Regions from separate parts of the Homo sapiens genome. Here regions 1, 2, 3, 4, 5 and 7 are each linked to region 6. Evidence: promoter capture Hi-C in human tissues and cell types (Jung and others, 2019). All regions are on one chromosome and are shown on one strand. The core of a region is centred on a gene start or on the middle of the fragment in contact, and the rest is flanking DNA. Distances in the headings are between cores, read along the strand shown.

Region 1 (3,397 bases), core at 786-3,285, 600 kb before region 6:
CTTGGTCCCTGGCTTGGGAACAGGCAGGAGGGTAGTGTTCCATGGAGACTGGCAAAGGACTATAATTCCAAAGGCTCTCAAGTGCTTGAGGTGGACCTGGATTCCTTCAAGAGCTTCTCTAGGGAACCGGGTACTGTTTTTGCCTGACCGGCTGGGCCCCAGGCTTAACTTCTGTAGGTACGGGGGTTTGGTTGACTGCCAGCCCTGGAGGGTTGTCTTCTGCCCACACCTTTGACCATCACTTAGCCAGAGCTGGTCTTATCTCTTGACCTGGCTCGGTTAAGAAAAGTCTTCATTCCTCCTCCTGGGGGACAGTAAGGGCCATGATGACTCCCTTTCCGGGTAACTTTAGCTGTAAAAGAGCTGTGCTCTGTAAGAGAGATGGTGGCTCTCAGCTTGCTAAGCAAGTCCCTTCCCAGCAAGGGCAAGGAGAAGTCGGGCATGTACAAGAACTGGTGGATTACTTCATGTACCCCTATAGTACAAGTGCAGGGCAAGCAGAAAGCTTGTTTTGCCGAGACTCGTGTGGCTTCGATTATATCAATAGTCTTTTTGGATAAGGGGGTGACCGGGGTGGTTACTACTGAATATTCAGCACCAGTATCGACAAGAAACTCTATGTCCTTGTCCCTGACTGTCATCCTGACCATGGGCTCGTTAGGGGCACCTGAGCCTGGTCCCCCTTAGTCCAGTAGCCCTTCTGCCAGATTAAACAAGGCCCTTTCATCCTTGCCTGAGACCTCTGGCTTGGAGCCATTTTGTTTCTTCTTTAACTGGGGGCACTTGTCTTTCCAGTCTTAGATCGTAAATGAGCTGCCAAGGGAGGGGTTTCTCCCGCAGCTTCACATTCTCTCTTGTCTGTTCTGGGTGGTCTAGGGGTGTATCTGTCCAGAGGAGGCACAGGTGCTGTGGGCTCAGGAGTGGGGAGTCTCTCTTCTAGGTAAGGACGGGGGGCATTGCTGTGCCATTTCCTGCCATGGGTCCTCTGACATTGGGTCAGATAGAACTTTAGGAGCTGACTTCCCTTGGCGGGTGGGGAGAGATCCCTCATTGGCTATCTGTCCCTTTGCCACTAACACTGCTGCTGCCTGTCCTCTCAACCACTGTGGGGGGTCTAAAACCAGCTGTAACTAAGTGTCTGTGTACAGGAACTTGTCTGGATACCCTGGCTTACAGGTAATCTTGTGCCATACCTTTGAAATAAGGGACCTATCCAGGCTTCCTTCTGATGGCCAACCCACCTCTAATGCTGGCCAGTCTGTCTCACACAAAGTTCTAAGTTTTCCTGGTGTTATAGTAACTCCATAGTCTCCCTTAAATCCCTTTTTGAAATTTTTTATAACATAGTTCCTAGTGGGGTGGGCTTACTTTGTGTCTGACCCATTTTTCTTTCGAGACAAGACAACACTCACACTACAAGAGGGAAAGGGTAAAGGTCACTCACGCGTGGTGGTACATGCCTATAATCCCAGCTACTCGGGAGGCTGAGGCAGGAGAATCGCTTGAACCCCGGTGGTGAGCCAATATCACGCCATTGTACTCCAGCCTGGGCAACAAGAGTGAAACTCTGTCTCAAAAAATAAATAAATAAATAAATTGCTTTATGGAAGAAAGTAAGTATAGATGGAGAGAAAGGGATCTGATAACCGAAGCAGGGAATAAATGTTTGGAGTCCACAGCATCCTGAGAACTTCTTGGGAATAGAGTCTAGGCCTCCAGTGCTGTCACTCTCACCCATCTTCCTCTACACATGTGAGATGTTTCAGGACCCAGTGGCCTTTGAGGATGTGGCTGTGAACTTCACCCAGGAAGAGTGGACATTGCTGGATATTTCCCAGAAGAATCTCTTCAGGGAAGTGATGCTGGAAACTTTCAGGAACCTGACCTCTATAGGTAAGGATGACAATATTCCTTCCGTCAGTGCATTAGCAAACCAGTGTTTCTAGCTCATGAATGCTGTTGAGTGATTTTGAACATAGACAGGAAATACCTTGATGAATAAATGAGGCATGGCTGCAGTAAATCATGGGCACAGAATCTAATAATTTTTTCACAATTTTATACTGCTTCAGGACTATTTTTCTGTGTCTGTATTTTAGGAAAAAAATGGAGTGACCAGAACATTGAATATGAGTACCAAAACCCCAGAAGAAGCTTCAGGTAATTTGCATTTCCAAGAGAAAGCAGTGTCTCTCTGCACAATCTTAGAATATGAGAATATGTTGAAGAGAAGTAAAACAAAGAACTAAATCCAGCATCAAATTCATTTCTTCTTAGAATATTTTCTCAAAAAACATATATTTAAACGTGACTGAGGCTGAGGGCTCACTCCTGTAATCCCAGTCCTTTGAGAAGTGGAGATAGGAGGATAGCTTGAGGCCATCAGTTCCAGAACAGCCTGTGCAACATAACGAGACCACATATCAACAACAGCAAAAAATTAGCTGGGCATTGTGGTGTGTATGCATCGGTAGTCCCAGCTACTCAGGAGGCGAAGGCAGGAGGATCACTCGAGACTTCAGGAGTTAAAGGCTGCAGTAAGCTATGATGATATCACTGTACTCCAGCATGGGCAACAGGACAAGAACTGGACTCAAAAGAAAAATGACATACAGTATTTAGTAATTGTAAAATAGTTTACATGGGAATACTATTAAGAAGCCCCTTATGAATATTTTTTTAAACAATAGGTATGGCTGGGTCATCTTGTAGAACATGTCCAGTCACCTTCAAACGATTCAGACAGGGCAGAAAGCCTACACTTTGATGGACAGTGTTAAAAATGCAAGTGCAATACTTGTTGATTAATATAGAAGTACTTGTAAACAAACCCTTCATGATGTGTTTCTCATGTTTTACAGGAGTCTCATAGAAGAGAAAGTCAATGAAATTAAAGAAGACAGTCATTGTGGAGAAACTTTTACCCAGGTTCCAGATGACAGACTGAACTTCCAGGAGAAGAAAGCTTCTCCTGAAGTAAAATCATGTGACAGCTTTGTGTGTGCAGAAGTTGGCATAGGTAACTCATCTTTTAATATGAGCATCAGAGGTGACACTGGACACAAGGCATATGAGTATCAGGAATATGGACCAAAGCCATATAAGTGTCAACAACCTAAAAATAAGAAAGCCTTCAGGTATCGCCCATCCATTAGAACACAAGAAAGGGATCACACTGGAGAGAAACCCTATGCTTGTAAAGTCTGTGGAAAAACCTTTATTTTCCATTCAAGCATTCGAAGACACATGGTAATGCACAGTGGGGATGGAACTTATAAATGTAAATTTTGTGGGAAAGCCTTCCATTCTTTCAGTTTATATCTTATCCATGAAAGAACTCACACTGGAGAGAAACCATATGAATGTAAACAATGTGGTAAATCCTTTACTTATTCTG
Region 2 (3,431 bases), core at 697-3,196, 860 kb before region 6:
TGGGTTACATTTCCAATTTCCAGATATTTTCAGCTGGCTCTTCCCCTGGTATAGGATTTCTTCTCCATTCTGCCCTACAAGTCTCAATGATCCTATTTAAAATATGCATTTGGCTCCTCTTTAAAATTGTTCTATCTTGTTTCAACAGATGCCTCCAAGAGACCCCCACTAGGTTCTTGCTGACCTAATACTTGAGATTTTAAACTCACTCCAGCTGGCCACTGAAACCAACTTAACCCAAGAGATTTTGGCTAAAATTTAACAGGTTCCTGAGAACCTCTTATAAGTAAATGGCTATAGTTGCCCAACTGGCCACTGCCCTGCCATTAGGATCCCTGCATGGGATGGACCCACAGCAGGTCACTGGTACCATGATAGAACACACACAAAAACTTATGAATGCTGTCTGTGGACGGGTTAGAGTCAGTCCTTCACACTGGCTAACTGGGCCTAAGTTTTAAAAAGAGCTAAGCCGCCACTTGTTAACTAGGGGTCACAAGCACTGTGAGTTTCCTGAAAACCAACACCTTTTTAACTTTGGGGGCTCACCTGAGCTAGTCAATCAGAGCTCAGCTGTATCAACCAATCAGAACTGAGTTTCAAGTTTCAGATCTTCATTTGCATAAAAGCACTTGACTAGGAACCCAGATGGGAACTTTTGCTATAAAACCTAAGCTTTCCCTTGTTCTCTGGAACAAATAATGTTTAGGTTGCAAACTCCTTATGCCTTTTCCCCAGAACTATGTAGAAATAACGCCTTCTAAAATGTGATCTTGATACCAGGGAACTCCTTTTTTTTTTTTTTTTTTTTTTTTTTTTTGAGTCGGAGTCTTGCTCTGTTGCCCAGGCTGGAGTGCAGTGGCGTGATCTCAGCTCACTGCAAGCTCCGCCTCCCAAGTGGCTGAGAGACAGGTGCGCACCACCACGCCCAGCTAATTTTTTGTCATTTAGTAGAGATGGGGTTTCACCCTGTTGGCCAAGATGGTCTCAATCGACCTGACCTTGTGATCTACGTGCCTCGGCCTCCCAAAGTGCTGGGATTACAGGCGTGAGCCACCGCACCTGGCTGATACCAGGGAACTCCCAGAGCAAAGCACTAAATACTTTCATTCCTCTAAGGTCTATGACTCTAATCAGCAGAAAGTAGTTAGAGCAGTTATCATTCCTTTTCCTTCAAGACTTAGGAATGAACATAATAGGAGGGATTTGTAACCACAACAGATTATGTGGTACAACTTCTATATAACAAAGCTGAGTTTTCAGTTGCCATGGACCCAACACTCAAGGTCACATAATCTGAGCATGCCCAGATGAACCAAATGTGTAACCATGGGTGGAACCTATATGCTTGGACTGAGGTGTGGAGATTAAAGTAAAAAGTAGATGCTGGGCACGGTGACTCATGCCTGTAATCCCAGCACTTTGGGAGGCTGAGGTGGGTGGATTGCCTGAGCTCAAGAGTTCAAGACCACCCAGAGCAACATGGTAAAACCCTGTCTCTGTGAAAGATACAAAATATTAACCAGGTGTGGTGGCGCACACCTGTAGTCCCAGCTACTTGGGAGGCTGAGGCAGAATTGCTTGAGCTCCAGAGGTGAAGGTTGCAGTGAGCGAGATCATGCCACTGCATTCCAGCTTGGGCTACAGAGTGAGGCTCTGTCTCAAAAAAAAAAAAAAAAAAAAGATACCACATGGTGGAATCTAGGATCTAATCAGGTTGGGCCCCGGTATCATCCCATGGCAGGATCCAATCGAGTCACATTAACCTGGCATGAGATCATTGCAAGATGCAGTGAGTTCATGTCTTATTACCCCACGCTTATAAAACTTGCCAAAGCCCCCAGCTCAGGGAGACATATTTGAGCATTTCTTCCTTTCTCCTTGCCAGTCAAACTTGTAGTAAAGCTTTTCTTTCTTCAAAAGCTGGTGCCATGCTATTGGCTTGTGTGTACATCTGGAAGTGAGCCAATTCACTACTTGCTAACATAACAAAGAATCAGCAACTGTGAAGATGAAACAATTAAAATTATCCAGTCTGGGCCAGGCGCGGTGGCTCACACCTGTAATCCCAGCACTTTGGGAGGTCCAGGTGGGTGGATCACCTGAGGTCGGGAGTTCGAGACCAGCCTGACCAACATGGAGAAACCCTGTCTCTACTAAAAATACAGAATTAGCTGGGTGTGGTGGTGCATGCCTGTAATCCCAGTTACTTGGGAGGCTGAGGTAGAAGAATAGCTTGAACCAAGGAGGTGGAGGTAGCAGTGAACCGAGATTACGCCATTGCACACCAGCCTGGGCAACGAGAGTGAAACTCCATCTCAAAAAAAAAAAAAAAAAAAAAGAAAGAAAAAAATTACCAGTCTGTGGAAAAGAAAGAGGAAAGAAATTGAGAGAATGTGTTACTAGTATACCTGCCTTGCCAGTCATGTTAAAGTTCTTCAGAGCGAAGGAAACTGATACAGGTTAGGAAAGCAGATGTTTCAGAAATAAAACTTGTTAGAAAATAATTAAATGAGGGCACAAATATGATTATCTTTTCTTCTCCTTCATAGATAAATGTTTGTTCAAATGAATATCAACAATGTATTGGGTGGTTATAGCTTCTAACAGGTCAAATGCGTGACAGTGATATTATATGGGATTGGAAAGAGGAATTCAGAACACTCTTAACATATTGGCACTACCCCAGACACCAGTATAGTGTTATTTGAAAATGAAAGTCCATTAGTTGCAAATGTATACTGCAAACTATGGAATTCACTAATAAAATTTAAGAAACAAGTAGACTTACTACACTAATAGAAGCAAGCAAATGGAATCATATAGAACGCTCAATTAAAAGGCAGAAAAATAGAGCAAGTAGAAAAAAAGCACAAGTACAACAAACAATATATATGAACATATTAATCTATGTCAATTACCACTTTGAATGTGTATTTTTTTTTTTTTTTGAGATGGAGTCTCGCTCCATCGCCCAGGCTGGAGTGCAGTGGTGCCATCTCGGCTCACTGCAAGCTCCGCCTCCCGGGTTCACGCCATTCTCCTGCCTCAGCCTCCCGAGTAGCTGGGACTACAGGTGCCCACCAACACGCCTGGCTAATTTTTTATATTTTTAGTAGAGACGGGGTTTCACCATGCTAGCCAGGATGGTCTCAATCTCCTGACCTCGTGATTCATCTCAGGAAGACAAGATGGGTGGATCACTTGAGCCCAGGAGTTCTCAAGACCAGCTGAGCAACATGGAGAGACCCTGTCTCTACAAAAAATAAATACAAAAATTAGCCAGGCATGGTAGCACACGCCTGTAGTCCCAGATGAGGTGGGAGGATTGCTTGAGTTCGGGAGGCACAGGTTGCTGTGATCACACCACTGCACCCCAGCCTGGGTGCCAGAGACCCTGTCTCGAAAAATAAATAAATAAATAAATAAAC
Region 3 (3,264 bases), core at 438-2,937, 790 kb before region 6:
GTTTGTTTATAAGTGTTTTTTATATATATTAATAGGTCTTAAATTTACATTGTTGACATTATCATGCAAAGCTTAGGTGTCATGCCCTGTTTGAACATGAACGGACTGAATGCTGTGCAAGATAACTCAACTGTGGCTATCATCGGAACAGTAATATTCACGTGGGAATTCTTAGTACTGTTTTCCAAGGAAATTATTTTGCAGACACACTTAACAGCTATGTCCCATTTAAGTATGTTTTTGAAGAAAATTTTCTAAGAGTGAATAAATTTAAGCCAGGATTATTCTTTTTTATTTATTTATTTATTTATTTATTTTGCTTGTTTTAAAATTTTCCTGTCTTTTTTTTTAGACGGAGTCTTGCACTTTCGCCTGAGCTGGAGTGCAATGGCATGATCTCGACTGACTGCAACGTCCTCCTCCCGGGTACATGCGATTCTCCTGCCTCAGCCTCCTAAGTAGCTGGGACTACAGGTTCACACCACCACGCCTGGCTAATTTTTTGTATCTTTAGTAGAGACAGGGTTTCACTATGTTGGCCAGACTGGTCTCGAATTCCCGACCTCCTGAACTGCGCCCCACCCCCCCACCCTTTCAAAGTGCTGGAATTATAGGTGTGAAAAATTTCCTGTCACTTTAAGAATTATTCCAAAGACATATCTTTCTCTTCCTAGGGCAAATTACCTTAGATTTCTTCTGGGAATTTTGTACTAATCTTTAATGTTTTGGTCTTCCCATTTCATTCCTAAAATGTAGACCCAGAAGAATCACTATATATTATTATAAAATTACATTGAGGCCGGGGGCGGTGGTTCACGCATGTAATCCTAGCACTTTGGGAGGCCGAGGTGGGTGGATCGTCTGAGCTCAGGAGTTCGAGACAAGCTTGGGCAACACAGTGAAACCCCGTCTCTACTAAAAAATACAAAAAAATATTAGCCGGGCATGGCGGCGTGCGCCTGTAGTCCCAGCTACTCGGGAGGCTGAGGCAGGAGAATCAGTTGAACCCAGGAGGCAGAAGCTGCAGTGAGCCAAGATCGTGCCACTACACTCCAGCCTGGGTGACAGAGCAAGACTCCATCTCAAAAAAAAAATAATAATAAATAAAAATAAAATTATATTAAAAATGTAAGATTTTATGTAGACTGCAGTTATGGATGATTTATTCACCAAACCACAGTTGACTCTTCAACAACACAGGTTTGAACTGCATAGATCTCCTTACATACAAATTTTCTTCAGTTTCTGCTACTACTGAGACAGCAAGACCAACCCCTCCTCTTATTCAGCCTACTCAATGTGAAGACAATAAGGATGATAACATTTATGATGCTCCACTTCTACTTAATGAAATAGTAAATATAGTTTTTTCTCCTTGTGATTTTCTGATTAACATTTTTCTCTGCCTTAGTTTATTGTGAGAAAACAATATGTAATGCATATGACATATAAAATATGTGTTAATTGAATGTATATCTTACCAGTAAGGTTTCTGGTCAACAGTAGGCTATTAGTAGTCAAGTTGCGGGGGAGAAAAAAGTTATTTGAAGATTTGTGACTGCATTGAGGGCTGGTGCCCCTAATCCCTGCATTGTTCAAGGGTCAAACGTATTTCTTTTATATTCTAAATCTTTGAACAGCATTGGTGACGAAGAAACAAATATTCGTAATTGACTAAGTAAAGACATGATGTCCCCCTTACCTATACAGTCTAGGTTCCTGATGGTTTCCCGTAGCACATCTCTGTAGAGACTCTTCTATGATGGACCCAGCAAAGCCCACTCCTCCCAGGCAAAAGATCAAAGCCACATCCTCAAAGGCCACTGAGTCCTGAAACACCCGACACGTGCAGAGGAGGAAAGCTGAAACTGACAGCACTGGGAATCTGTACTCACTACATAAATGTCACATGATGCTGTGGTGTCCAAACATTTATGCAACGACACGGTAATCCAACTCTTACCCTCTTTCTAAACTCATTTTCTCCCAGAATGCAATTCTAATGCTAGAATTAAACGTGTTTGGTAAAATAACAGTCGAATTATAAAATGCCACTCCTTGGTGAGTTAAAGGAGTGACATTTATTGCCTAGATCACCCCTAATATCTATGTGTACAGGATGTTTGTAATTCCTGATGTGACAAAGTCCTCCTACCTAATGGGCAGAAGAGTTAACATCAGCTGTCCTGAGACCGCATATTGTTACAAATGCTTGCTCACAAAGTTGAACCTTTCACTATATCTAGGAACTAAATTTAGTTAGGGGGCTTCACCAACATAAGCGATAATGGAGGATGAGTGTCCCTAAACTATGTAAAAAATATGGTATCTGCTGAACTCCTATGTTCCCTCTGAGAGTTCAAACTTTTGTGATATGCTTGGCAGAGGGAGCATACCTGATCATTCACTACTAGGTTTTTTGCTTGTTTTTGTTTTTGTTTTTGTTTTTTTTGAGACAGAGTCTTGCTCTGTCTCCAGGCTGGAGTGCAGTGGCGCAATCTCGGCTCACTGCAACCTCCGCCTCCTGGGTTCAAGCGATTCTCCTGCCTCAGCCTCCCGAGTGGCTGGGATTACAGGCGCACACCACCATGCCCAGCTAATTTTTGTATTTTTAGTAGAGACAGGGTTTCACCATGTTGGCTAGGATGGTCTCGATCTCTTGACCTCGTGATCCACCCACCTCAGCCTCCCAAAGTGCTGGGATTACAGGAGTGAGCCACCGCGCCCGGCCATTCACTGCTAGGTTTGAATGTTTGTCCCCTCCAAAATGCTTGTTGAAACATAATCGCCAATGTGGCACTAATGAAAGGTGAGGCCTTTAAGAGGTGAGTAGATCTTAAGGGTTCAGACCTCATAAATAAATTAATCCATTCATGAATTCATGGCTTACTGAATTAATGAGTTATCTCAGGAGTGGGACTGATGGCCATATTAAAAAAGAAGGGAACCTGAGCTACCACATTCAGCCCATTCTCCATGTGATACCTTCAACCACCTAGAAACTCTGCACAGCCCCCATGACCAAGAAGGCTTTCACCACATGAAGCCCTCTTACTTGCTAGGTTCCAGAACTATAATAAATAATTTTTTTTGTTGTTTTTTGGCTTTTCTTTTTAGATGGACTCTTGCTTTGTTGCCCAGATGGGAGTGCAGTGGCACGATCTCGGCTCACTGCAACCTCTGCCTCCTCCTGGGTTCAAGCAATTCTCCTGTCTCAGCTTCCTTAGTAACTGGGACTACAGGTACATGCTACCACACTTGGAT
Region 4 (3,316 bases), core at 805-3,304, 710 kb before region 6:
TACATATTAACAAAGGTTATTCTGTTTTTCATTTTCTGTTTTCCATTTTCATTATGACTACTTGTTTTTCTTTCTTATTCTCATTTTTTTCCTAGATCATTACAATAATTTTCCATGTAGTGGCCCTGGCATGCATTTTGATCCTTCATGCAATCATACAGCTACCTCGATGTCCATTCTCTCTGCCATTCTGAAATTGGACCTCACTCCTTTTTGACTCTAGCTCTCCATCTGCTATGTGATAAAGTCCTGTCTTGTGATGGTTACTATGGGACTGAATGAAGAAGGGCAGATGCAGAAATAAAGACAAAAGATCTATGTTAAAGAAGGGATCAGGGGGCTCCTTGCTTCTAGTGAGCAAGGGCCCTGAGCTTCTATAGCCCTTTGTTTTTATTGGGTAGAAAGAGCAGGGAGGAGGAGGTAATGGTTGGTCAGCTGCTTGATTTATCACAGGTTCACATGATTACTTTCTTTGTACAACAGGCTTCAGATGTGCCTGTAGATAATCACAAGAAACACTGCGCTTGGGGAGTAACTGCCCTCAGCATTCTTTCTGGGTGGCAGACGTAGTTTGTCAGTTTGCCAACAAGCTGCATTCATGAGAAGAGTTTGCTGTTTGCTCATTAGCCTCCAGTGGTATACTGAGTTGATCAGGACCCCCATTCTTTCAGCCTCCAACACTGTCTGATTACATTGTTTCCAAAGCCTCTTTTATGGACTTCTGTTTACCCCTTGGCGTGTCCTGCATTTACTCTCCTCAAAATGTGTACTTAGAGGCCGGGTGCGGTGGTTCATGCCTGTAATCCCAGTACTTTGGGAGGCCAAGGCAGGAGGATCCCTTGAGCCCAGGAGTTTAAAACCAGCCTGGGCCACACTGGGAGACCCTGTCTCTAAAATAAAATGTATACTTACAAGCCCTAAACCCCAACAGGGTCATATTTGGACACAGACCTTTTAGGAGATCACATACATTTATAAAGGAGAGCCCTCATAATGGGATTAGTAAGAAGAGAGAGAATTCTCTGTTTCTCCAGCATGGGAGGACAAAGCAAGAAGGCATCTAGCTGTAAGCCAGGAAGATAGCCTTCACTGGGAACAAAATTGCTGGCAGCAAGATTTTGGACTTCCCGCACTCCAGAATTGTGAGAAACAAATGTTTGCCGTTTAAGAAACTGAGTCCATGGTATGAGTCCATGGTATTTTGTTATACCAGCCTGAGCTAAGTCACCCCAAGAGTCCTCACATTAACCATATACTGTCGTACAAGTGCTGCATTTGGATCTACCTGGAATGTCTCCAAGTCTTCTACTTTTCCTCTTGGACCCATTGTGAGAATAGGTTTTGCTTCATAGGCAACTGCTGGTGATAGTAGTGATAGCCCATAACAACTAGGGAGTTAAAGAAACTTCCTTTCTCTCTCTCTCTCTCTCTGTTTTTGAAATGGAGTTTTTGCTCTTGTTGCCCAGGCTGGAGTGCAATGGCACGATATCGGGTCACTGCAACTTCTGCCTCCTGGGTTCAAGTGATTCTCCTGCGTCAGCCTCCCGAGTAGCTTGGATTACAGGTGTGCACCACCACGCCTGGATAATTTTCGTTTTGTTAGTTACAGACGGGGTTTCACCATGTTGGCCAGCTTGGTCTCGAACTCTTGACCTCAGGTGATCCACCTGCCTTGGCCTCCCAAAGCGCTAAGATTACAGGTGTGAACCACTGTGCTCGGCCTCTTTTATATGTGTGTGTATATATATATATTCTCTTTTTTAATAAAAGTAAATAGAAACTAGGTCTTACTATGTTGCCCAGGGTGGTCATAGCCCAAGATTTTGGGCTCAAGCGATCTACCCGCCTCGCTCACCCAAAGTGCTGAGATTAAGGCGTGAGAAACTGTGCCAGGCCAAATGAAAGAAACTTAGTGGGAGGCCTGGCACAGTGGCTCACACCTGTAATCCCAGCACTTTGGGAGGCTGAGGCGGGTGGATCACTTGAGCTCAGGAGTTCAAGACCAGCCTGGACAGCATGTTGAAACCCTGTCTTTACTAAAAATACAAAAAATTAGCCGAGCATGGTAATCCCATTCTCACAGTCATAGAAAGGTTCTTTTTTAAGGATTCTACCTACTTGAGAGCATCATATACTGCCAGCACTTGTTCACTTCAAGAGTGTCTGGTTTCATCTCTATGACATAATTACAACCAAAATCCTAAAGGAACTGATTTACCACACTGTGTTTGCCATAAGGCCCAATTTGTACCTGCAGCAGCAGCTGTATCATCCCAACTCACAGCTCTACCCTCTAAAGGTGTGCCTGAGGCTTGTGATCCAGTCCATAGGGAAATATCACTACCTGCTGTGTTTTATAATTGGACCATCCAAGGGTTGTCAGGGTTTTCCCAGAGAGTTTTGTGGGATTTTTTTTTTTTTTTGAGACCAGGTCTTGCTGAAGTTAGTATGGCAGCATACTAACACATTAACCTGTCGAAAGCTTCCTGCAGAGCTGTGTCCCAGTCTCAAAGTGCCCCTTTCTAATAATTCTATATATTGGTATCAAACTTTGGGCTAAGTGTCAGATAAATGCTCTCCAATAATCCAAAGACCAACAAATGTCTGGATTTCTTTTTTCTTTTTTGTTTTTTAAGAGACATAGTGTGGTTCTGTTTCCCAGGCTGGAGTGCAGTGGTGGGATCATATAGCTCACTGCAGAAACTCCTGGGATCAAGGGATCCTCCTGCCTCAGCCTCCCAAGTAGCAGGGAATAAAGGCACATGCCACCATGCCCAATTGTTTATAAATTTTTTTGTACAGATGGAGTCTCACTGTATTTTCCAGGCTGTTCTTGAACGCCCAGGCTCAAGTGATTCCCCAACCTCAGCCTCCCAAAGTGCTGAGATTACAGTCATGAACCAATGCACCCAGCCCTGAAAAGGAAATATTTCGAATGGAAATTCAAAGGGAGAACATCTAATGTTCAAGTTGATGTCTATAGAGCAGTTAACGGGAACTATCATTTAGGGTCTGTGGGATTCTAGGACACTAGGTATGAAACAAATATGAGGAAGGTCAGAGAACAAGCTGACTTAATGATTAATGCTGAAGGTGCTGCCAGCTTGGTTTAAGTTTTCCTCCTCCCTTCCTCCCTGATGAATTTGATAAAGTTTAAAGGGATGGTTTCACCAGGGGCCTTTTACATTGACAGCAAGGAGGTCATCCGCCTGGTAAATCCTCAGTAGTCCAAGCCTCTTACATGGCTAGAATGATCCAGTCCATAAGGAAACGTCACCACCCTCTGTGTTTTACAATTAGACCATCCAAGGGGGTC
Region 5 (3,094 bases), core at 24-2,523, 670 kb before region 6:
TTTGTGACTCTTGCTCCCCATCTGCTATGTGATAAAGTCCTGTCTGATTACATCGTCTCCAAAGCCTCTTTTTGGACTTCTGTTTACCCCTTGGCATGCCCTGCATTTACTCTCTTCAAAATATATACTTAGAGGCCGGGTGCGGTGGCTCACGCCTGTAATCTCAGTACTTTTGGATGCTGAGGCAGGAGGATCCCTTGTGCCCAGGAGTTTAAAACCAGCCTGGGTCACATAGGGAGACCCTGTCTCAAAAACAAAATTTATAGTTACAAGTCCTAAACCCCAACAGGGTCATATTTGGACACGGACCTTTTAGGAGATCACATACATTTATAAAGGAGGGCTCTCACAATGGGATTAGTAAGAGAGAGAGAGAACTCTGCCTCTCCAGCATGTAAGGACAAAGCAAGAAGGCATCTAGCTGCAAGCCAGGAAGATAGCCTTCACTAGGAACAAAATTGTTGGCAGCAAGATTTCAGACTTCCCAAGCTTCAGAACTGTGAAAAACAAATTTCTGCTGTTTAAGAAACTGAGTCCATGGTACTTTGTTATACTAGCCTGAGCTAAGTCACCCCAAGAGTCCTCACATTAACCATATACTGTCGTACAAGTGCTGCATTTGGATCTACCTGTAATGTCTCCAAATCTACTTTTCCTTTTGGACCCATTGTGAGAACAGGTTTGCCTCATAGACAACTGCTGGTGATATTAGTGATAGCCTACCAACTAGGGACTAAAAAGAAAGTTTTTCTTTTTTTTTTTTCTTGCTTTTTTTTTTGAGATGGAGTTTTTGCTCTGTTACCCAGGCTGGAGTGCAATTATGCAATCTCGGCTCACTGCCAGTTCTGACTCCCAGGTTCAAGTGATTCTCCTGCCTCAGCCTCCCAAGTAGCTGGGTTTACAGGTGCGTGCCACCACATCCAGATAATTTTTGTACTGTTAGTTAGAGATGGGGTTTCAACATGTTGGCCAGGTGGTTCTCGAACTCTTGACCTCAGGTGATCCACCTGCCTTGGCCTCCCAAAGCACTAGGATTACATGCATAAACCACCACACTCGGCCTCTCATTCATATGTGTGTGTATATTCTGTTTTTAATAAAAATAGAGACTAGGCCTATGTTGCCCCGTGTGGTCATAGCCCAAACTTTTGGGCTCAAGCGATTTACTCACCTCAGCCACCCAAAATGCTGGGATTAAGGCATGAGAAACTGTGCCAGGGCAAATGAAAGAAACTTAGTGGGAGGCCAGGCACGGTGGCTCACACCTGTAATCCCAGCACTTTGTGGGGCTGAGGCGGGTGGATCACCTGAGCTCAGGAGTTCAAGACCAGCCTGGACAACATGGTGAAACCACATCTCTACTAAAAATACAAAAAAATTAGCTGGGCATGGTACTCCCATTCTCACAGTCATGCAAAGGCTCTTTCTTAAGGATTCCACCTGCTGGAAAGCATTATATACTGCCTGCACTGACTCAAGAGTGTCTGGTTTCATCTCCATGTCATAATTACAACCACAATCCTAAAGGGACTGATTTACCACACTGTGGTTGCCGTAAGTCCCAAATTGTACCCTCAGCAGCAACTATATCATCCCAAGTCACAGCTCTACCCTCTAAAGGTGTGCCTGAGGCTTGTGCCTGCCATACTAACACATTAACCTGTCCAAAGCTTCCTTCAGAGCTGTGTCCCAGTCCCAAAGTGCCCCTTTCTAAAACATTGGGCTAAGTGTCAGATAAATGCTCTCCAATAATCCAAAGACCAACAAATGTCTGGATTTTTTTTCTTAAGAGAAATAGTATGGCTCTGTTTCCCAGGCTGGAGTGCAGTGGTGGGATCATAGCTCACTGTAGAAACTCGGGCTCAAGGGATCCTCCTGCCTCAGCCTCACAAGTAGCTGGGAGTAAAGGCACATGCCACTATGCCCGGCTGTTTTTAAATTTTTTGTACAGATGGAGTCTCACTCTATTGCCCAGGCTGTTCTTGAACTCCAAGGCTCAAGTGATCCTCCCACCTCAGCCTCCCAAAGTGCTGAGATTACAGTTATGAACCAATGCACCCAGAACTCAAAAAGGAATATTTATAAGGGAAAATATCTAATGTTCAAATTGTTATGTATAGAGCAGTTAACGGGAACTATCATTTAGGGTCTATGGGATTCTAGGACACTAGGTATGAAACAAATATGAGGAAGGTCAGAGAACAAGCTGACTTGATGATTAATGCTGAAGGTGCCGCAAGCTTGGTTTAAGTTTTCCTCCTCCCATCCTCCCTGATGAATTTGATAAAGTTTAAAGGGATGGTTTCACCGGGGGCTTTTTCCACTGACTGCAAGGAGGTGATCCCGCTTGGTAAATCTTCAGTAGGCCAAGCCTCTTACGTGGCTAGAATGATCCAGTCCATAAGGAAATGTCACCACCTGCTGTATTTTACACTTTGACCATCAAAGGGGTACAGGGTTTCCCCAGGGAGTTTGGTGGGATTTTAATTTTTTGTTTGTTTGTTTTGAGACAGTGTCTTGCTGAAGCGCAGTACCCAATTATAGCTCACAGCAGCCTCAAACTTTGGGGTTCAAGTGACTCTCCTGTCTCAGCCTCCTGAGTAGCTGAGACTGTAGGTACACACACTTCTCCTTGGTAATTAAAAATTTTTTATGGAGATGGGAGGGTCTCACTTCACGGCTCAGGGTGGTCTCCAATCTCGGGCTTCAAGCGATCCTCCCACTTTGGCCTCCCAAAATGTTGGGATTACAGGCGTGAGCCATGGCACCCGGCCTCCCAGGCTGTTGTTTGAAGGTCTTTGCAATCTCTAAGAGTTCTGCAGCAATTTATTCCCTGACAGTGAGAGTCTCATCCTTTGACCCCATTTTGCCGCAGTAGCTGAACGTTCACTTTTCTTTCCATAAGGGGGCGAGCTTGCCAGTGACCCTAATCCCTCTCCTCATCGATGACTTCTTTGTCATCAGAGCCTTCCTCTTCATAAATTCCCACGGAATCCAAGTTTTCACGTCCCAATCGGGCTTAGTTATGATAGCCACAGGCCCACACCAGCTGCCACAGCACCCCTGTCCCATGGAAACCGCCTGACTCTCTTCT
Region 6 (2,997 bases), core at 256-2,755:
AAAAGGAGGGGAAGCACAAAAATTTTTTTACCACGGCCGGGCGCGGTGGCTCACGCCTGTAATCCCAGCACTTTGGGAGGCCGAGGCAGGCGGATCACCTGAGGTCGGGAGTTCGAGACCAGCCTGGCCAACATGGAGAAACCCTGTCTCTACTAAAAATACAAAATTAGCCGGGCATGGTGGCGCATGCCTGTAATCCCAGTTACACGGGAGGCTGAGGCAGGAGAATCGCTTGAACCCAGGAGGTGGAGGTTGCAGTGAGCTGAGATCGCGCCATTGCACTCCAGCCTGGGCAATAAGAGCGAAACTCTGTCTCAAAAAAAAAAAAAAATTTTACCGTAGAGTGTCAGGTTCTTATTCTCCGTTTCCCTCTCAGGTTACAAGTACACAAACAAGAGGCCGGGCGCGGTGGCTCACGTCTGTAATACCAGCATTTTGGGAGGCGGAGGTGAGCGGATCACCTGAGGTCTGGAGTTTGAGACCAACCTGGCCAACATGGAGAAACCCAGTTTCTACCAAAAATACAAAAAGTAGCCGGTCGTGGCGGCGCATGCCTGTAATCCCAGTTACTCAGGAGGCTGAGGCAGGAGAATTGCTTGAACCCGGAAGGCGAAGGTTGCAGTGAGCTGAGATCTTCCCACTGCACTCCAGCCTGGGCGACAGAGCGAAACTCTGTCTGAAAAGAAAAAAAAAACAACAAACAGAAAACAAATCCTTTCAAAAGAGTATGGTGAAAGAAACTATAAACAACTAAAATACTGTGTCTTAAATGTCAAACAAAAAACAGCTGATAATGTTGATTTGGCGAGGGGAGGTCACCTTTGGGAATGCGGGGAAGGAACCGGAAATTTAGGCATTTATTTCCAGCCCCAGAAAAAGCTAGGCTAAAAAAAACGGGAGTCGTAGGTTTGAGATTCTTTTTCCAGTACGTTTGGAAGACTCGGAGGAAGACCAGTCCCCCGGAAAAAAAGACGATGTACTGGGAAGGCCACAGCCCACAGCTCTTCCCATGCACGAACCGCACACCCGAGACGGGATTCCGCCTTATGACCCTCCCGTGTCCCAGTACAAACAATCTGGAGAGAGGCGGGGCTGCGGGCGCGGAGCTGCCCAGACAGGGCTCCGAGGCCGAGGCCGCAGTCGCCGCGCAGGGACGGGACAGGACGCCTGGGGTACTGGCTACGGCCCAACCCACCCTGCGGCCGAGGGGACAGAGGGCCGAGCTGCGCCAGGGAACTCGGGTCCCAGACCCTGGAGTCGCTGCAGGGAGGCCAGGGTGCTTCCACAGCCGGTTCCGGCCGGTTCCCACAAGCCCCTCCCCCAGTCTCCAGGCGCCCGGCCCCGCACACGCACCATTTCCTGGCTTCCAGGGTGTCCCGGGGTCCTGCCTACGGCTCTCTCCGGCCTGTGCAGGTCCCAGCGCGCCAGACGCTGCGGTGGAGCCACCGGGGCCACTGGAGAAGCGGAGACCGGAACCCAAACGCAGCGGACACGAAACAGGAAGACCCCGCGGAGTTGTTGAACATTGCCCCTGTCCCCCTTGCAGAGTTCCTGATTGGATGGTTTGCAGGTTCCCGCCCCAGTGCCCCTGATTGGGTGATGATTCAAGTCCTGCCCCCTTGGTACTGAGTGACAGGAGAAGCAATGCGGTATGTGGCTGAGTAAAGACAGATTGACAGGGTCTTGGCCACTGCCCTTCGCGGGCCGGGCTTCCTCCTTCTGTAACCTTCTGTGCCGGGGAGGATATTTGCATTTAAGCAGAAAGTGTTTCAGGCTCTGCAGAGGTGACACTGGCGTGTTTCTGCACTCAGGGTGCCCTTCCTGCCTTTTCCTCCCGGACACAGAGTCACAAGTGTGCACAGGGAATGACAGACTCGGCGTCCAGTGGAGCCATCCCCTGGCCTCGGAGTAGGAGGCGCGCCCAGGCCAGGCCAGACCACAGTGTAACAGGAGGGAGGAGGGCTTGCTTCTTTCAGGCAAGAAAATTAAAACGGACAAAGAAATAAAAGTATTAAATGTATAGGAAAAACTGGAGTTTTTATGACAGCGATCATCTATAAAGAAACCAAGAGAAGTAAGCAAACATTTGAACTAGCTCAGACAAGCAGCCTGCTTCACCCGCAGTTCACAAGGAAAACCCACAATCATAACGTTAAAAATATTCCCAAGCGCCGGGCGCGGTGGCTCACGCCTGTAATCCCAGAACTTTGGAAGGCCAAGGTGAGAAAATTGCTTAAGGTCAGGAGTTCAAGACCAGCCTAACCAACATGGTGAAACCCCATCTCTACTAAAAATACAAAAATTAGCCAGGCGTGGTGGCAGGTGCCTGTAATCCCAGCAACTCGGGAAGCTGAGGTACGAGAATCGCTTGAACCTGGGAGGGGGAAGTTGCAGTGAGCCGAGATAGCGCCATTGCACTCCAGCCTGGGCGACAGAGCGAGACTAAAAAATGAAATATGAAATGAAATGAAATAATGAAATGAAGAAATGAAATATAAAATAAAATAATCCCAAGCTTGGGACCCAGACTCTAACTGCTGAAATGGAACCCCAGTGTGGATCAGAACCTGGTGATGAGACAGGGACACTTAAGAATTCAACTTTGGGAGCTCAAGGTGCCCTCCAGTCCTCTCCTCACAGTGTGGAAACACTCTTTCCTTCAAAACCTTCATTTGTACCAGCAGGAAACTCTCACCCGGAGTCAATGTAAAGTCGTGACCTAAATAAATTGTCATGTTCCCAAACCTTTTCTCCAGGGGACAATGCAAACAAGTTTTTCACTGAGTCTGACCCTCACAGATTTTCTTCATGTATACAAATTACAGCCTGACTCAGCGACCCCATGAATGCTAAAACCAAAACACTGTCCAGGAAATGGCCCCAGGCGCCAAAGGTACAACCTCAGAAAAGACAGAACCCTCCACCCCCAACCCAACCACATCTGCACATGGGTCTCCTGCTTTTCACAGCTCTGCAGCTTCTCAGAATCCACATTCC
Region 7 (2,986 bases), core at 122-2,621, 570 kb before region 6:
GGAGATGACATACCCAGTCCCAGATAATGTATCCACATCAGTGAAGGGTGGAATCATTGATTGTCAGATCACACAGCATGATTCACAGCAGGGAAGACAGGGCAGTGACAGAGGTGGGGGCACCTGAGCAGGTACGGTGGCTCACACCTGTAATCTTAGCACTTTGGGAGGCCAAGGAGAGTGGATCACTTGAGGTCAGGAGTTCAAGACCAGCCTGGCCAACATGGTGAAACCTTAAGAAATAGATAAATTAGCTGGGCATCGTGGTGTAATCCCTGTAATCCCAGATACTCAGGAGGCTGAGGCAGGAGAATCGCTTGAGCCTGGGAGGTGGTTGTTACACTGAACTGAGATCACACCATTGCACTCTCCAACCTAGTCGACAGAGCAAGACTCTGTCTCAAAATGAAAAAAACAAGAGTTGGGTGCACCTGAATCCAACCCCTGCCTTATCCTCCCTTGAAGGCCAAATACACCCTGACACTTTTAACCAAACAGTAGAAACAACACCATCCACTTGACCCCAAATGTGACTTTCCACAGGATGCAAGCACAATGTTGGAATGGCCAATGACAGTGACAATGAAAGTGCAGGGTGAGGGTGATGAACAGGACACACTGGAGAGCCTGACATTGGCCTAGACTATGGAGGTGTCTTGATGTTTCACAAAAAGCCCAAGGACCAACCCAAAGAGACACTGGAGCACAGGCCCAAAGGGTGTTCATATGCCAGGAAGGCTACTAATTTTAGAAGGCAGTGATGGTGCCTGTTTGAGTCCGGATGCTTTATAACTTCTGCTTTTCTGCATCTGCTTAGACAAAGAAATCTGCAGTTTTTGAGTTTCAGTGTTTAGAAGTAAGTTATTTTAGCAATCTACACACTTGTGGTTTATTCTGAGCTAACTTCAGACACACAGCTACAGATAGGGAATATCACGAGTATTTCCAAGGCTAAAAGTCTTCATGAAGTCAGTGGGACCCTCTCATGGGAGGGTTTTAAGACCCACAATCAAAAAGGTGGGGAAACATTAGAGTGGAAAGAGGGCAGCAGGTCAGGGGCCTTCCCCAGAGGTCTAACACACCCAACATTATTACCCTGGATGAAAACCAATACATATCATAACACCACACACACTCTTCAATGTTTCACAGACAAAATGAAATGTATTCAAAGCTAAGCTTCCAGAATTCCACTTTACACAATAAGGTTTTAATATCACTCTGTGTTGATGTTAGGCAATTACTAAATAGCATTTTCTGGTTATCTATGGAAAATACCTTGATTTCTGGGATATGAAAATGCTCATTTTTAGATATGCTTGTTTTTGAACTTTTTTTAATAAAATAAGGTGAGAAAACAGGAAAAAAATTTTCAGATCAAGGAACTTAGGCGAATTAATAGGAGAAAAGTCATACAAATTTATTTAACATGTATATATGGGAGCCTTCAGAATGAGGACCCACCCAACAATAAGACAAAAAAGCTTACATACCATTCTGAGGCCAGGAAAAATGCAGACTTGGCATGGCCAAAAAAATTCCAGGTTTGGTGGGGAAGTCATTTTTAATGGCAAGACAGATTATGCTAAAGGAAAGGAAGAAGCTTGGCTAGCAAAGGAGACCTTGTTATGTAGATGAAGGCTCCCTCAGAGAGAATAGGTGGGAAATGCTGCTTTTCAGACTTTTATTTAGAATTTTAAGTAATAGAGTCAGGATTATGCTGTGTTGCCCAGGCTGTTCTCTAATTCTTTGTCTCAAGCAGTCCTCACAGCTCAGTCTCCCAAAGTGCTAGGATTCCAGGCATGAGTCACCATGTCCAGACAGGGTTTGTCCCCTTGTAAAGAATTATTCATTGCTGGGCACAGTGATTCACAGTGACGTCTGCCTGGCATCTGCCTGTAAAGGAAGCATGGCACCAGCATCTGCTCAGCTTCTGGTGAAGGCCTCAGGAAGCTTTCAATCATAGCGGAAGGTGAACGGGGAGCAGGCAGTCACATGGCGAAAGCAGGAGTGAGACAGAGAGAGTGGTGTAGGAAGGTGCAGCTCACTAGAACTCACTGATTATCACAAAGACAGCAACAAGCCATGAGAGAAACAAGCCATAGGTCCCCCTGACCCAAACAACTCCCATCAGGACTCACCTCCAACACTGGGGATTGCAGTTCCTCATGACATTGGGTGGGAACATACATTCAAACTATCACGTGACAATATTACTTCCCTCAGTTTATTAAAGAACAAGTGTTTCTAGCTCTTCAGTGCTGTTCAGTGATTTGGAATATGGACAGGGAAAACTTTGATAAATCAGGAATGGCTGCAGTGAGCCATGAACATAGAATCTAATAATTTTTAAACTAATTTTATAATAGCTGGGCATGGTGGCTCATGCCTGTGGTTCTAGCACTTTGAGAGGCCAAGGTGGGTGGATGACTTGAACCCAGGAGTCTGAGAACAGCCTGGGCAACATGGTGAAACCCTATCTCTACAAACTTTTTAGCCAGGATGGTGACATGCACCTGTAATCCCAGCTACTTGAGAGGCTGCAGTAGGAGAATCACCTGAACCCAAGAGGTTGAGGCTGCAGTGAGCTGTGATCATGCCATTGCACTCCAGCCTGGGTGATAGAGTGAGACCCTCATCTCCAAAAAAAACCCCATAATTTTATAATCAGGACTATTTTTTATGGATCTGTATTTTAAGAAAAAAATGGAAAGACCAGATCATTGAAGATCAGTACAAAAATCTCAGGAATAATCTAAGGTAAGTTTCCCTCACAAGATAAAGCATTCTCTCTCTAGAAAATCTTATACTGCCTGAAAATGTTTTGGTTTTTTTGGAGACAAGAGTTTCACTCTTGTTGCCCAGACTGGAGTGCAATGGCTCAATCGCGGCTCATCGCAACCTCCGCCTCCCAGGTTCAAGTGATTCTCCTGCCTCAGCCTCCCAAGTAGCTGGGATTACAGGCGCCCACCACCACGTCTGGCTA

Evidence for each region. Contacts are between HindIII fragments. The study calls those that stand out against the background at their distance.
Region 1: a contact is called between a fragment that was not itself captured here and the fragment with the promoter of ZNF564 in region 6, in 4 of the 25 tissues and cell types used here (IMR-90 fibroblasts, dorsolateral prefrontal cortex, hippocampus and 1 more).
Region 2: a fragment that was not itself captured here is called in contact with the fragment with the promoter of ZNF564 in region 6 in 2 of the 25 tissues and cell types used here (hippocampus and lymphoblastoid cells).
Region 3: a contact is called between a fragment that was not itself captured here and the fragment with the promoter of ZNF564 in region 6, in 1 of the 25 tissues and cell types used here (lymphoblastoid cells).
Region 4: a contact is called between a fragment that was not itself captured here and the fragment with the promoter of ZNF564 in region 6, in 3 of the 25 tissues and cell types used here (IMR-90 fibroblasts, dorsolateral prefrontal cortex and hippocampus).
Region 5: a fragment that was not itself captured here is called in contact with the fragment with the promoter of ZNF564 in region 6 in 2 of the 25 tissues and cell types used here (aorta and lymphoblastoid cells).
Region 7: a contact is called between a fragment that was not itself captured here and the fragment with the promoter of ZNF564 in region 6, in 2 of the 25 tissues and cell types used here (hippocampus and lymphoblastoid cells).

The regions. Positions count from the first base shown.
Region 1 is chr19:11,945,415-11,948,811 of GRCh38, forward strand. ZNF700 (zinc finger protein 700) reads left to right here. Exons shown (of 4, transcript NM_144566.3): 2 at 1,767-1,893; 3 at 2,100-2,160; 4 at 2,862-3,397. It also overlaps a transcript of ZNF69 not described here. Among named protein-coding and RNA genes, the nearest start is that of ZNF763, 18 kb to the right of the region's middle. The HindIII fragment of the contact is 4,250 bases long and covers 1-3,397 here.
Region 2 is chr19:11,687,269-11,690,699 of GRCh38, forward strand. No RefSeq gene overlaps it. Among named protein-coding and RNA genes, the nearest start is that of ZNF823, 50 kb to the right of the region's middle. The HindIII fragment of the contact is 6,716 bases long and covers 1-3,431 here.
Region 3 is chr19:11,758,104-11,761,367 of GRCh38, forward strand. No RefSeq gene overlaps it. Among named protein-coding and RNA genes, the nearest start is that of ZNF441, 7.3 kb to the right of the region's middle. The HindIII fragment of the contact is 5,499 bases long and covers 1-3,264 here.
Region 4 is chr19:11,843,468-11,846,783 of GRCh38, forward strand. No RefSeq gene overlaps it. Among named protein-coding and RNA genes, the nearest start is that of ZNF439, 3.6 kb to the right of the region's middle. The HindIII fragment of the contact is 5,747 bases long and covers 1-3,316 here.
Region 5 is chr19:11,876,573-11,879,666 of GRCh38, forward strand. No RefSeq gene overlaps it. Among named protein-coding and RNA genes, the nearest start is that of ZNF69, 9.7 kb to the right of the region's middle. The HindIII fragment of the contact is 3,977 bases long and covers 1-3,094 here.
Region 6 is chr19:12,549,977-12,552,973 of GRCh38, forward strand. ZNF564 (zinc finger protein 564) reads right to left here and starts at 1,506. Exons shown (of 4, transcript NM_144976.4): 1 at 1,354-1,506. The coding sequence starts at 1,356. LINC02926 (long intergenic non-protein coding RNA 2926) reads left to right here and starts at 1,750. Exons shown (of 2, transcript NR_187485.1): 1 at 1,750-2,893. RefSeq lists enhancers at 143-645, 1,304-1,413, 1,479-1,773, 2,557-2,997 and a silencer at 994-1,073. The HindIII fragment of the contact is 29,302 bases long and covers 1-2,997 here.
Region 7 is chr19:11,980,880-11,983,865 of GRCh38, forward strand. No RefSeq gene overlaps it. Among named protein-coding and RNA genes, the nearest start is that of ZNF433-AS1, 5.2 kb to the right of the region's middle. The HindIII fragment of the contact is 4,224 bases long and covers 1-2,986 here.